Linked DNA regions of Homo sapiens: region 2 is linked to region 1. Evidence: promoter capture Hi-C in human tissues and cell types (Jung and others, 2019). All regions are on one chromosome and are shown on one strand. The core of a region is centred on a gene start or on the middle of the fragment in contact, and the rest is flanking DNA. Distances in the headings are between cores, read along the strand shown. Region 1 holds the start of FAM114A1 (family with sequence similarity 114 member A1). Region 2 has its middle 19 kb from the start of WDR19.

Region 1 (4,648 bases), core at 1,904-4,403:
AAACATTGAAAAACAATTATACGTGCATTTGTGGGTGAGGACATATGCAGCAAACATTTAGAAATATGAGTGAGGGGGGCTGTGCATGGTGGCTCACACCTGTAGTCCCAGTACTTTAGGAGGCTGAGGCGGGAGGATTGCTTAAAGCCAGGAGTTTGAGACCAGCCTGGGCAACACAGCAAGACCACGACTCTACAAAAAAATTTAAAAATTTGCTGGGTGCAGTGGCACCCTGTGATCCTAGCTCCTTGTGAGGCTGAGGCAGGAGGATTGCTGGAGCCCAGGAGTCTGAGGCCGCACTGAGCCGTCATCACACCACTGCACTCCAGCCTAGGTGACAGAGTAAGACCTCATTCCTAAATAAGAAAGAAAGAAATATGGGTGGGAGGGATATACAACCACCTCAAGAAAATGGCTACCTGCAGAGATGGTGGACAATGGAAGGGATAGGGTTTCAAACATATCCGTAACATTTTTTTCTTTGCAAAGAAAATTCTAAAATAAATACTGCAAAAAATTTTGTTAAATCTAGATATCATCATAGTATTTCCTATATTTTTTACACAAATAAGTATTTGTCATATTATTCTTTACTTTTCTATATATTTTAAATACTCCAGAAAATTTTTAAATGAACTTAAAATGTTTTACATTGCAAATAAATAAAATATCTGAAATAAAATCTGGTAGTCCTGGAAGCAGCTACATGAGTAAAAGGGACAAATTTGCAGTGGGCAAAACAAAAAACAAACTTGTTGCCAGGATAGTTTGCTTTATTTTCTTTATTGGATAGGTGTGGTTTGGGTCAAAGGAGAAGAGGAACTCAGCCCTTTAAAAAGAGAACATCTGATTGGGCTGTTACGGCACAGCAGGGAAGGGAAGGCAGGTTAGCAAAGGTGCTTGCTGTCTCTGGGCAGGAGCAGAAGTCCCAGGCACAGACGTCTGTGTATATGCTACACCAAAACACACCTGTTGCAACTGGAACATAATTTGATAACACTCGCAAAGCCAGAACTGGAAGGGACTGTGCCGAGCAATGCTCTTTATTTTAGAGGTGGAAAAACTGAGTTACAGAAGCCACGTGTTAGTTAAGGTTCAAAGTCTCGCTCAATTCAAAAAGGCTATTGATCTCAATTTAAAGCAGTTTCCACCCACTCTCACATTAAGATAACTTTCTGGTTTTTCTATGAATTTAAAAATGACAGGCTGGGTGTGGTGGCTCACGCCTGTAATCCCAACACTTTGGGAGGCCGAGGTGGGCAGATCACTTGAGGTCAGGAGTTCGAGACCAGCCTTGCCACCATGGCAAAACCCTGTCTCTACTGAAAACACAAAAATTAGCCGGGTGTGGTGGCACGCACCTGTAATCCCAGCTACTCAAGAGGCTGAGGCAGAAGAATCGCTTGAACCCAGGAGATGGAGATGGTGCCACTGCACTGCAGCCTAGGCCACAGATCAAGACTCTGTCCTCCTAAAAAATAAAATAAAATAAATATTCAGTAGCTTAAAAAATTATTAATATAAAAATATTTAATAAAAATATTAAATAAGAAATATAGCCAGGCACGGTGGCTCATGCCTGTAATCCCAGCACTTTGGGAGGCCGAGGTGGGTGGATCACCTGAGGTCAGGAGTTCGAGACCAGCCTGGCCAACATGGTGAAACCCCGTCTCTACTAAAAAATACAAAAATTAGCCGGGTGTGGTGGCACGCACCTGTAATCCCAGCTACTCAAGAGGCTGAGGCAGGAGAATTGCTTGAACCCAGTAAGCAGAGGCTGCAGTGAGCTGAGATCACGCCACTGCTTTCCAGCCTGGACGACAGAGCAAGACTCCATCTCAAAAAAATGAATTAATAAATTAATTAATATATATATGGAAGAAACTGGAATATAAGGAGCAAACTAATTGTCAATAGGAGAATGATTGAATGAAATATAATTACAAACATATTGCAATATATAAGACAAGTCTTAGAAGAGTGGTTTTGGTTGATATGTATTGACCAAGAAAGATGATTATAATATATAATAAATAGGGGGAAATTTACAAAATACGTCAACATCTCGCCATTTTTATAAAAAAGCAAACAAAAAGCTGTTTATGCATACATGTATTTATATAAGCTTAGAAAAACTATGGTAGGATCCACACACTATAAAAAATGGTAGTGATATTGAAAGGGAGAGACTAGGGCTATTTTTTCTTTAACTTTGAATTTATAATTCTTCAAAAAGAAGAAGGGATGGAGTGAGAGAGGAGAAAATCTGCCTTAAACACATCGCTCAGAAAGAATCACTATTTTTAAATTGTATTTCCTCCGACTTTTATAGAAAATACAAAATTGTTTACAAAACTAGTTAATACTATAAACACTGCGCTTCCTCCGCATCTGAGTTCATATTAAGCCATATTTGAGGAAGGCCTTCATATGTGGCCTTCCCTCCATGTCAACGAATCCTCATTTTTAAGGGCTACAACATATTCGATGTCTGAAGTTACTGTAGCTTACTTCACCAATCTTACTGGGGGACATTGAGATTGTCTCCGGCTTCCCCCCGCAGAAACAACTACAACAAACATCCTTGTACATACATATTTGCCCATTTGACTGCCTACTTAGGACAAATTCACAAATGTGGAATTCCTAGGCCAAAGCTAATACATCGGAGTTTTAACCCACAGCTCCAAACTGGCCTTCTGGAAAGTGGGTTTTCGTTGTTTGTTTGGGGTTTGTTTGTTTTAAATCTATCACACTCCCACCGACAGGGCAAGGGAGTGCTGCTTAACGCAGAATCAGGAGATCAAACTTTAGCTGAATTTGAGCGACCTCTTCCCAGTGACACGGCGGGGGGTTTTCCAAGCCCTTTTAAGGAAAGGAAAGGGATCTGGCGAACCCCGAGACCCACCCGCCCTGGGCTGGAGAGGCGGCGCGCTCTGGCTTTCCGCGCTGGCACAGGGGTGGGACAAGCCAAGTTTCCAGGAGACTCGCCCAGCGCGGGCCCGGCCCTCGCAGCGTGGGGGTGGCCGGGCGTCCCCGCGGCGCTCCTCGTGGGGCGGGGCGCAGGCGGGGCGGGGCCCCCTCTCCAGCCGCCCGCCCTCCGGCCGCGTCCCCGCCGGCCCTGCAGACGTGGCGGGGCGGGACCCGCTGGGCACTCCCGCGCGTACTCGGCCGCCTGAGCGGTAAGAGCCCCGGGCACTCGGTCCCCATCCCCTTCCCCGGGGGGCGGGCGAGCGCGGGGGCGGCTGCCCGGGGGTGGTGGGAACACCATACCTTGGCGCCTCGTCCGGGACCCACGAATCCTGCCCTCTGCGTTAGTGAGAAGCAGTGGTCAGGGAGGACCCGGCTCTGGGGTGAGGGTCTGGGGCGGCGCGGCCGAGGGACCTGCGTGGGTGCGGGCGTGTGAGTGTGTGTGTGTGAGTGTGTGTCGCTCCGGGTCCACGCTCATGCACACACCCACACGCCCACACTCAGGGTCTGCCCCCTCGGCCTGCGTGAACCTCCGCGGAGCCTGCCTGGATCTCCCAAAGTATCCAGTCCTGGCACCAAGCAAGTCTGGAAAAGTGCCCCCAATGGCTCGGGGCCAAGTCAGAGGTGGGCTGCAGGGTCCCCCAGCCCGGGCACGAAGGGAGCAGGTCCCTGTAAGACAGAGGCCTCGTCCCAGGGTGCGCCTGCCCTCGGCCTTGGCACAGGGAGCTCAGGCCTTGACCTCCCCGCTCCCCTCGCCTTACTCCTCCCCCAACAGCCGACCCACGCCCTGCCTGCTCTTCCAGTCCAGCCAACACTCTAAGCAGGCACCGCCTCCACTCGCAGCCCCCGGGATGGGTCCCACTCCCTACCGCAGATCCCCAGGCCCCCTCCACCCAGTCGGCTAGCCCTCGCCTCTGCCATCCGGTGAGTATTTCCAGGCACCTCAGACCAGGCGCCTGAACGTCACTGCCTTTTCTTAAGTAGGAAGACATCTCTCTATGGGCTGTGAGAGCATTACCTATGCCCTACTGATCCCATCATTTCCCATCCTAAACATCTTGAAGGACACAGGCAGGTGGCTTCTTAAATCAGTGTGCTCTGAACTCCCTGTGACCTCAGCCAACCTGTGACAACTGAGAATGAGACAGGCTCTATCCTCAGAGCCTCTTTTTGCCCTCTCTGCAGCCTAGTGGCTCCTTCCCTACCCCACCCATAGGCCTGCGTCCCCGCCCTCCTTTCTTCCATCAAGCCTGAGCTTGGGAAAGAATCTGATAAACTTCTTACATTGTAACCTTTAAGTGAAGGAATGAGACGTTAGGGATGGATTTGAGGCACAAGTGAGACAGTGCAGAAGGAATTTGAGGGTTGGAGGGGGCTTTCTTGAATCTGAGCGATTCAGACCATAAAAGTAAACTTGTCTTTGTTTATTTGACCAGGCTTACATCAAACATGGTTTCTCTTTTATTAATATCAAACACAATGTATTTCAATTCAGTAAATATCTGAGGGACAGAAACCAACCTAGGTGCTGTTGGTCACAGTCTTGGAGGACAGAATGGCAGAAGTAAATACTCCATAAATACATGGAATAGAAATCTGTGCAAAGTGCCAAAAACATAGAAGAGGTAGCAGTTATTTCATTGGAAGCAGTGGGGCAGATTAAGGAAAAATTCAGAAT
Region 2 (4,907 bases), core at 491-2,990, 300 kb after region 1:
GCGTGACCCACCACATCCAGTTAATTTTTTCTTTTCCTTCCTTCCTTCCTTCTTTCTTCTTTTTTTTTTTTTTTTTGGTATTTTTTGTAGAAATGGGGTTTCGTCATGTTGCCTAGGCTGGTCTTGAACTTGTGAGCTCAAGTGATCCACCAGCTTCGGTCTTCCAATGTGCTGGGACTACAGGCATGAGCCGCCACACCCAGCCCACCCAGCTAATTTTTAAATTTTTTTGTAGAGGCAGGGTCTCACTATGCTGCCCAGGCTGGTTTTAAATTCCTGGGCTCAAGCAATCCTCCTGCCTTGGACTCTCAAAGGGCTGGAATTACAGGCGTGAGCCACTGCGCCCAGCCTGAAACTTTTTATTATGAAAACGTTCAGGCATACATAAGAATAGACACAATAGTATAATAAATTCCCATGTGATTATCCCCCAGCTTTAACAATTATGAACATTTTACTCCGATCTTGTGTAATCTCTATTGCTTCCTGTCATCACTGTCTGGATATTCTCCTCCATACATTTTCTTTTTTGAAGAAATTGCATCTGTCATTTTTCAACCTAGAAAATGTTTTTTATTAGTTTGATGGGTATTATACCTTTATTTTTATCAAGATTTATTGCGATATACATGAATTATAATGTTGAAATAAAAAACAATTTCAACCTTGAACTTCTCGTTGCTTAATAACAGTAACAACATTACCTCACCTATTACTTATTGAGTGCCTACTATAGACCACGCATGGCTAGCAACCATCATATATGTTATCTCATCTTTTTAACAACCCTCTAAAGTGGATATTATTAGCTGTATTATAGACAAGAAAAGTGAAGCTGAGAAAGTTATTTCCAAGTTATTAAAGGATTATTACTGAGTTCAGATCAGTTTGTCTGTGTTTTCCACTCTACCTCATTACCTCTAAATATCCCTTCCCTTATATCTACCTACTGAAATCTTCTTATCTATTCTGTCAGCCTAACGAGAAAAAACAGAATACATAATAAAAATCAGAAAATGAGGCAGTAATCAGGGTCCCTAATTTTAAAATTATAAAATGATATAAGACAATAAAATTATATAAAATATCAAATGCATCTTGCAGCTTAAAAATAATAAACTGAAAAGTGACTTTCAGAAGGCATATAATAGGAAAAGATTTGTTGCTTCATAAACAATCAATATTAAAAAATACATGCTGTTTTTCATATAACTCATATGACAAAAAGTGAATGGGATTTTGGAAACAATTATCTAGGGATCAGTGACCTCAAAGTGTGCTCCCTGGACCAGCAAAATCAGCATCAGCCAGGAACTGCAATTTGAAATGCAAATAAGTTGACTTATTTGTTATGAGAAAACTAAAAATCTATTTAAGATTATATGCTTTTTTATTGCTCGATACTGAACAGCATAATAAATGTGTTAAATTTTTTATTTGACCTAAATAAACGTGTTAAATATACACATATACCATATTCATAAATACATAGTAAAATAGATATACATAGGGGCAAAAACCAGAAGGAAATATGCAAAAAAAGTAATATACATTGATAATTGGATTTTGTTTTCTTTTCTCTTTCTTTTTAACTGATTAAATTGTCTCTAAAACTAAATTCCATAAACATTTTTATTCCTATTTTATACATGGGAGCACAGGTTCAGAGGAGATAATTTTCCCAAGGTCAAAGAATCAGTAAGTTCCATGAACTGGGTTTAAAGTAGAGGTTCATGACCAAGTTCAATTTGCTATTACACCATGTGGTCCTTAAGCAAGTCTTATCATTTTACAATAGAAACACTTAAAATATAAATATGTATTGTAAGGCAATGCACAAAAATAAATTTTTTAAGAACCCAAATGTGATGTTTAATATCATGTTTAAAGATCAAATGTGCAATGGTCATTATCTACCAGCTTCGTTTAGTTACTAGGTTTTTGCAATGTTGAAAAAATTATGTTCACAAGCTTGAAAAATGTCTCAGCCAATTTCTTGAAAATATGTTAAATTGACCATATTATTATGGTCAATTTATTATTATGTAATTTTTATTTATTATGTAATATTTATCAAACTTGAGGTAAAAGTGAATAGTAAAAATGAAAAACTAAGATAGTAGAATTTTATAATATAATAAAAAAGATAACAATGGGTATAGTATATCAGTAAGTTCTAGCATTCCTAAAAGACTTCCAAAAAAAGTCCTTTGGTAGGACTAAGGATTGTTGAGTGGGCAATATTAATCATAAGGAAAATGATTAAGAAGAGGGAGAAATGTAAGGTTAGTTAATAAAAATAGAATAAAGTCAGTGAAAGTAGGGGAATTATGTAAGTTACTAAGACCTTATAGAAAACAAAAAAACAAAATCTAACCAAAAAAAAAAAAAAAAAGACAGAATAAAGAGGAGACTAATGTGGAATGTTTACATTCTTGCCTCTACCAGAATTCTAGGCCAAAAGTAGAGCATCAGTTTGACTTTCTGGAAAGATTTCTTCTGAGACTGAATTAATTGATATGGTTTGGCTGTGTCCTCACCCAAATCTCATCTTGAATTGTTACTCCCACAATTCCTACGTGTCGTGGGAGGGACCCAGTGCCAGTGAAAGGTAATTGAATCATGGGGGCGGGTCTTTCTGGTGCTGTTTTCATGATAGTGAATAAGTCTCACGCGATCTGATGGTTTTATAAAGAGGGGTTCCCCTGCACAAGCTCTCTCTCTGCCTGCCGCCATCCACTGAAGATGCGACTTGCTCCTCCTTGCCTTCTGCCATGATTGTGGGGCCTCCCCAGCCCTGTGGGACTGTAAGTCCATTAAACCTCTTCTTCTTCCCAGTCTCGGGTATGTCTATATCAGCAGCATGAAAACGGATTGATACACTAAATAAATATAAGGTGTCCTGGCCATAGGACCCCCTCCTGAGTATAATAAAAATATATGTGGTATTTTAACACAATTAGGAGGTAGCAAGCTCTCTACCCCGGGTGAAGGTCTGGAGAGGAGTTTGGGCTGAGTTTAGTATAAAAGAAGATCTGCATCTTATACCATATGTAAAAACTAATTCTATATTAAAGACTTAAGTGTAAAAAAATTAAAATCATTCAATAAAGTCTCCTATAAACAGATAAAAACTTCAAAGCCAAGACTAGAAACCAAGTAGCTATTTTTAAAATAGACATGTTTAACTACACAAGAATATGAAAAAGAGCTCTTACAAATTGACAATAAAAAAAGAAAAACAACTCCATAAAGTTAGATAGCAGAAGAACAAATTGAAATAGCCAACAAACATATGAAAAGTGTTCAAATTCATTAGCTCTCAGGGAAATGCAAGTTAAAGTAAGAATGAAACTTTATTCCTATCAGACTAGCAAAAATTAAGAGAACCTATGAAAATTGTTGATCGTTTCTGGTGAGAAAGTGAAGGAAAAGTACTTTCATAAGTTGCTAGTGGGAGCATTAAGCATTATAATCTTTTTGAAAATCACTCTGATAAATCTATTAAAATTAAAAATACATATACTCCTCAGCCCAACAATTCTACTCATGGGAATTTATTCCAAAGAAATAAAAGTATGATTATGTTAAAAATATCTATAAGGACCTCAATGTTCTAGTAGCAAAACCCTGAGCATAAAGTGGATGCCACAGGGGAAAGATGAAATGGGATTTGGAGGAATATCCAGAAGATATTATTGAATGAGAAAGGTAAGATACAGAAAAAAAAAAATGTGTATACATTACCATTTGTTCAACAGTGCCACAAAAACACCATTACATATATGGATACACACACACAAACACATATACATGTGTGTGCCACATTTATGGTTTATGACCATAGAGGAAAAGTATGGCAGAATTCATATTAAGTTGCTAACATGTATTGTCTTCTTGTGGGGAGGGGGAAAGGGTTTATGAGGAGGAAGAAGGGAAGGGAAGAAATGGTGAAAAAAAGGAAGGAAACAGCCACACTAAAAATTATTACACTCTTTTTAGTGGATCTTACTGCTACCCCTATTTTCCCTTCTGCTGACCAAGGTGGTCCACCACATTCCTAAGAAACACGAAACACATTACACTAAAAATGAGTGCTGCAAAAGCACTAAGCAACTGGAAAAAATTATACAGGTTAAAGAATAGGTAATTCTTATATGAAAAGAGCAAAATTATATCCATTCTTTCATTTTTTAGCTAGCTAATACAAGGAGTTTCTTTTATCAATAAGTATCTTGATGGCCAATTCCTAGCTAATAAATGCCATCAATTCATATTAAAATATAAACTGAGTGTTTATTCTGTGCAAGGCACTACTCAAGGCACTGTAGAAAACACAAAACAACAAAGGTCCCCCACTTTCCTTTCTGTTTTAACATGTGGAAGACTGGAAGACTTCCATCCTCACATCTTCTAGTCTGCTCAAAGCACTGTAGAAAATCCTAAATGCAAAAAGTAGCATCCTCTTCTTCACAAGAATGGGAAATGTCATTCAGTGTAGAGCTCCCATTAGTTACGACTAGTTCTAAAAGTATTCAGCATTTTTCATATTGTAGCACTGCCTGTATTCTTCCAGTCAGGCTAAACTGTCCTCAGCTCCTTAGGTGTCTCTCCGTGAAAAGATTTTCCTGTGTGCTCCTTGAAGGAAGCTACCACATGAAACTTAACCACCCAGCTTCCACTGGCTAAGGGTCTTTTCTCATTCAAAAATCTCCTATACTCTATCCGAGCTTCAGTGAATTCAGTCTCACTTCCTCATGCTATTCAGTTCTATTACAAGCCTTCCATCAAACATTTAAGAAGAGGAAAAAATAAAGACAAAAACCAACCCCCTAACCCCCAAATCAAACCAAGTGAAACACATTTTACTTCTTTTTATTTCCCTCTGGGGAAAAACATTATTCACC

What was found. Contacts are between HindIII fragments. The study calls those that stand out against the background at their distance.
Region 2: a contact is called between a fragment that was not itself captured here and the fragment with the promoter of FAM114A1 in region 1, in 1 of the 25 tissues and cell types used here (H1 embryonic stem cells).

The regions. Positions count from the first base shown.
Region 1 is chr4:38,864,653-38,869,300 of GRCh38, forward strand. FAM114A1 (family with sequence similarity 114 member A1) reads left to right here and starts at 3,154. Exons shown (of 15, transcript NM_138389.4): 1 at 3,154-3,182; 2 at 3,746-3,894. It overlaps MIR574 (microRNA 574), which reads left to right and starts at 3,380; the gene lies at 3,380-3,475. It also overlaps a transcript of TLR6 not described here. RefSeq lists silencers at 2,918-3,397, 3,448-3,497 and an enhancer at 3,705-4,288. The HindIII fragment of the contact is 6,667 bases long and covers 1-3,548 here.
Region 2 is chr4:39,161,555-39,166,461 of GRCh38, forward strand. No RefSeq gene overlaps it. Among named protein-coding and RNA genes, the nearest start is that of WDR19, 19 kb to the right of the region's middle. The HindIII fragment of the contact is 5,116 bases long and covers 1-4,298 here.